Regions from separate parts of the Homo sapiens genome. Here region 1 is linked to region 2. The links are contacts of gene promoters, found by promoter capture Hi-C in blood cells and fetal thymus (Javierre and others, 2016). All regions are on one chromosome and are shown on one strand. Each heading gives the region's core, a stretch centred on a gene start or on the middle of the fragment in contact. The rest is flanking DNA. Distances are from core to core; before and after follow the strand shown. Region 1 overlaps LOC124902645 (a long non-coding RNA gene). Region 2 holds the start of NELL1 (neural EGFL like 1).

Region 1 (2,700 bases), core at 72-2,571, 1.5 Mb after region 2:
GCTTTGTTGCAAAGTGCTTCATTCCATTGGTGAACAACTCTGATGCAATTCCTTCTTCTTTCCCACCCTCTCTCCTCTCTCCCTCTCTTCCTACTTCCTTCTTTTTTTTTCTTTTCTTTATTCCACAACTTATTAAATGCTAAAATGTGGCAAGTTCTGTGTTAGGTCTGTGGATACATTAATCAACAATGCTATAGTATGAAAGTTTGTATCCCCTCACCCCACAAATTGAATATATGTTGAAACCTAACCTCCATGGTGATGGTATTAAGAGCTAGGGCCTTGGCTGGGCGCGGTGGCTCACAGCCATAATCCCAATGCGTTGGGAGGCCAAGGAGGGTAGATCACTTGAGGTCAGGAGTTTAAGACCACCCTGGCTAACATGGAGAAGCTCGTCTCTACTAAACGTACGAAAATTAGCCTGGCGTGGTGGTGCATGCCTGTAATCCCAGCTACTTGGAAGGCGGAGGCAGGAGAAACGCTTGAACCTGGGAAGCAGAGGTTGCGGTAAGCTGAGATAGCACCACTATGCTGCAGTCTAGGCAATAGAGTAAGTGGTACTCCACCTGAAAAGAAAAAAAAGATCTAGTGCCTATTGCAGAGTGATTGGGTCAAAAGGACAGAGCCCTTGTAAATGGGATTAGTAGCTTTATAAAATAAGCCCAAGGGAATTTATTCCCCCTTTCCACCATGTAAGGACACAGCAAGAATGTACCGTCTATGAACCAGAAAGCTGACCCTCACCAGACACCAACAGAAATAAGTGTCTATTGTTCATAGGCTACCTGGTTTATGGTATTTTGTAACGGTAGCCTGAATGGACTAAAACAAACAAGATTCAGTTCTTGACTTCAAGTAGCTCGCAGTCTATATTGAGGTACTGTAAAGTAAGCAGGCAATATAGGATGAAAGTGCCAAGACAAAGATAAGCTCAGGTAAACTGGATGCAGAAATCAGTAAATACTTACTGGAAACCTATTGGATCTTTTGCACTGTGCTTGGAGCTAGGGGGCTTACAAGACAATTTGTACTTAAAATAAGGCAAAACTTGCCTCTTTGTCACTTTGTTACATTAGGTTTAGTTCTGCCCTCAAAAAACATGCAGAATGATTCTAGTCTTTTTGCTATGTTCAAAAGTTTTGTCAAAGAATGGTTTTTCTTATTTTCTTGGCAAGCACTAAAGGGCAAAGCCAGATAGTCTATAATTATTCCCTCGATGAGGGATACATCTTTAAAATGTTCCTATTATGGGAAAATACAAGGGAAAATTTATTTGGAATTTTCCACCTTTGTTAATTTCAATTGTGAAGACAAAGCACAAAATGTTGTAGTCCTTCAGTTTCCCAGAAAATGTTCTACAAACAGTGGTATTGTTAAGTCATCCTCAACATTGACATAAAAGTCAGTACTCAGATTAGCATTCCAGATAGCACTTGCATTTCAGATGGTAAAAAATGCCAAGGTCCTTAGACAACCAAGGTTATCAAAGATCCATTTTTTCCTGATGGCATACAATAGAGACTTTTGGTTTTCCTTCATTTTTTCCCCTTTGTAAAAATTTTTCAATGAATAATAGGGAATTTAGAATTTGATGTATAAACTATTAAGTGTGAATTAACTGGATAAACTTTTTCTTGTGAATCAAGAATTCTATTCCCACTTCTGTCACTAATTTGCCATGTGACCTTGGGAAAGTCACTTCATTATTCCAACTGCCTATTGATAAGATAAACCTAATATTCCCTATTACCACTTTCATTTCTAACGTTCTATGATTTTGAAATAATTTTATTGAAGAAGTAGCTAAGAAATGTGAGAATCACACAAAAACTGTGTCTATAATTCTTATCCACATCCCCCTTCCACCAGTAAATCTAAGAAATCTTGTATTTACCTCGTATAATATTTGATATTAAGTTGATAAGTCAAAGGGTGAGTGTGGTTCAGACAAAACTTAAAATAATTGAGTATCTCCCAAGCACCAAGCAATATGCTACATCCTTGACATATGTGTGTTCATTCAATCTTGGAATCACTAATTGTCTATGCTTTTGTCAAGTTTTTCCAACCCTATCATTATTGTGTTGTTGAATTAGAGGATAGGGACAAATAATTGTTGAGCTATCACTATGAGCCAAGAAATATTTTAAGCATTTTACAAGCATTGGTGCAGTATTTGGTACATTTTAAAGGTTCACCAAATGTTTCTCAAATAAATTAATTTATAAGTAAGTTAAAAATGATTTCTCAGTAATTATATCATATGACAACTGTATGATTTCTTGTGTTTGTGGCCTACTATTTTTGCCTTGAACCAGTCTAGTTTTTACTAGGTTTTATTTGCTTATCTAGGAGAGCGGAGAAATGCCTCATAAAGTGTTTGTTAGGATCAAGTGGGATTTAAAAACAAAAATTTGTTCGATTAATATGAAATTAGTATAGACTTACATAGTTACAGTGTATTCTCATACTTAACACGGCTTTATAAATTCCAGAAATTATAGCAATAAAGAAGAATCCAGAGATGGAGGTTGAGGAGGGTAGGCTGCCCTTGAAAACCATTCATACCGTATCATCATCAATATTGCCATTGTCATAATTCCTTTTTATTCTTTCGTTAAAATGATTTTTTTTTTTTTAACACAGAGTCTCGCTCTGTCACTCAGGCGGAAATGCAATGGTACAATCTCTGCTCACTGC
Region 2 (2,700 bases), core at 197-2,696:
ACTTCACTGGGGCTCCTGGGGTCAAAGTTGTGTAGGGGTTAAGGATATAGGAAGTGAAAGTGGGTGCAAGTGAGAAGGGCACGTTCTTATTAGTGAAGAGGATTCTGAAACGTTGGAATTGGTTTCCAGGAAACGAGGGACGGCTGTTCTGAGGTTTCCTTGGACTCCTCTGGGATCCCTGTTGTGAATATCAAAGGAGTACTGCTGGTGAGGGGGAGCGGGGGCTTCAGAGAGAGTGGGAAGACTGAGCAAGCTAAGTGGAGTTCATTTGGTATAAATCAGAGGCTGTCATTTCAGATTTCATGACTCTACATATCCAGTTATAAATAACGTTCCTAGGTGTTAGTAGGACAAATAGGAAGTGGGACAGAAGTCTTAAATTTGGGGGATCTTCATAGGGAAGGTCAGGTCCTGAAAGGGTCGCATAGAGGGGAGAGGACCCATTCTCTTCTTGCCGGCAAGTAGAAAACAAAGCCCAGCCCAGCTTTTCTCTCCAGAGAATGTTGTGGTGGGAGAGGGAAAAGAAGGTGGAGGTCCCGGAGGAATTGCACATGGGGCCAAAATGTGACTATGAAAGAAGAGTGGGCTTTTGATAATACCATTAAGAAAATCACGCAAGAAAGAAAAAAAGATGGTTAGGAATTACCCCTATGTGGCAGCATCTGCCCTGCAGAATGAGAAGGTTTGCAAATAGACTTCCCAAACCCCAACCACAGCTCGCTCCGCCTCGAGGACCCCTTTTCTGCACCCCCACCTCAGCGCCCTCTTCCTGCACCCACAAAGAGAGTACTCAGTCATAGGGGTTCAACAGGAGAGAGGAGACAGAAGGTACAGGCGGTGAGCAGGGACTCAGCCATCATCCCCCTCAGGTCCCTCCCCACCCAGTTGACAGAGCGAATCCCGAGTAATTGTTTTCCGAGGGGGTCCGTGCGCGCTCGGTGGCGCCGCCTCGGTCTGGGTTCCCCCGAGGAAAAATACCCACCCGCGAGGGCTCGGCGGCTTTTCGACTCGGCGGGGATGAACTGTGGCAACTTCGGCAGCCCCCACCGCGGTGCGGAAGTAAAGAGGGCAACATTGGCGACTGCGGCTCGGAGGGGCTGGAGCGCGTGAAGCCGTGGGGGCGCCGTGCGCCTCCCGCTCTCTCGTTTCGGCCGCAGGTCCTGGGACTCCGACTTCGGTGCTCCGGGTGATAGCGGCTGCGGCGCCTGCAGTCCAGATCCTCGCAGTTCTGCGGGCGAAGGAGGCGAACGGAATCGGCCCCCAGTGGGGAGCGCAACAAGCCACAGTAGCCAAACCCCGCGCTCCTGCCCGGGCTCCCAGACGAACGCAGCCGCAGCGGGGGGCCGGGCCCCGAGCCCCACGCCGCCGCCGCCGCGCCAGCGGTGGGGGGCGGGCTGGGGGCGGGGCGGCCGGGGCTGCCTTCCCGGGCGCATATGCGAGCGCAGCACCCGGCGCTGCCGAGCCACCTCCCCCGCCGCCCGCTAGCAAGTTTGGCGGCTCCAAGCCAGGCGCGCCTCAGGATCCAGGCTCATTTGCTTCCACCTAGCTTCGGTGCCCCCTGCTAGGCGGGGACCCTCGAGAGCGATGCCGATGGATTTGATTTTAGTTGTGTGGTTCTGTGTGTGCACTGCCAGGACAGGTAAGCATGACTGTGGCGGTTAGAGGGATCCGGGAAATGGGGGTGCCCACAGACCACGGCGGCGTGGGGAGACCTGGAGCCGAGCTTTGCGCTGGTCTGGGGAACGGCGGTAGCGTGGACCGGTTCCTGGGATCTCTTTGCCCTGCTCGGAGTGACAGGGTGAAAATAGGGACTCACGGGCTTGAAGATGTCCCCGTTGAGTGCCCCTTCTCAGGGGACCCGGCCTCAGGGGCGCAGGAGTGAGGGGCGCGGCCGAGTAGGCGCACCCTCTTGCTGCTAGTAACCGGCTTTCCGTCCCAGGGAGTCGAAACCCGCAGCAGGGCGGGCCCGCGTGCCCCGAGTTCCCGAACTTGTAAGGTGCTGTGGAAACCACTCTCGCCGACCCCCGCCAGGCTGGGAAGGGGTAGCTGCGGGAGTCGCACCCGCAGAGGGAGCGCTTCCGGCTGGCGGGCGCGGCCGGGGCCCGGGAGGGCGCGGTGCGGCGAGGGCAGAGAGCTGCGGGAGAACCCTGGGATCCCGCGATCTCCTCCTGTGCCTTCCTGACTACCCAGGAGAACTCCAGGAGTATTCTCCTCCGCCTGTCTTTGCTCCCAAGGGCTGGGCGAACAATTATCTGAGGGAAATAGAGCAGTGGAGACAATCTGGGGAAATTTTCTCAAGCTCAAACCAGTTTTCTCTTGCCATAATCGCAGGGTTCCGTGTGGGGAGGGGGGAGCAAGGATGACGCTTGATTGTCTGAAGTCCCCACTTCGTTCTGCCTCCGGAGACGCAGTTGTGAGGACTCTCAGCGCATCTTCTTCCTTCTGCTTCCACCGGCTCCCTTGCCCAAAAGTCCCCTGGGGTTCGGAGACTGGCTTGCAGCCGCCTTCTTCAAAGAGCTAGTAGTAGATGCGGGGAGACTGGGGTGAGGTGAGGTGGGGTGAGATGTAGGAAATTGGCAAAAATAGGGCCTGTCAACTGGGGGGAGTGTCGGAGGTTTGCAATCCTACCCAGCCATCCTCCGTACGCGCTGCACCCCAGAATCTGTGTGGTCATTCCCTTTCCCTTTATTCTCCCCCCTT

The links. The method cuts DNA at HindIII sites, captures the fragments that hold promoters and counts their contacts. A CHiCAGO score of 5 or more calls a contact.
Region 1: a fragment that was not itself captured here is called in contact with the fragment with the promoter of NELL1 in region 2 in 2 of 17 cell types (endothelial precursors and monocytes); the score reaches 7.5 in endothelial precursors.

What each region holds. Positions count from the first base shown.
Region 1 is chr11:22,139,360-22,142,059 of GRCh38, forward strand. All of the region lies in intron 1 of LOC124902645 (a long non-coding RNA gene), which reads right to left. Among named protein-coding and RNA genes, the nearest start is that of ANO5, 52 kb to the right of the region's middle. The HindIII fragment of the contact is 4,574 bases long and covers 1-2,700 here.
Region 2 is chr11:20,668,140-20,670,839 of GRCh38, forward strand. It overlaps NELL1 (neural EGFL like 1), which reads left to right and starts at 1,447. Exons shown (of 20, transcript NM_006157.5): 1 at 1,447-1,639. The coding sequence starts at 1,585. The HindIII fragment of the contact is 10,998 bases long and covers 1-2,700 here.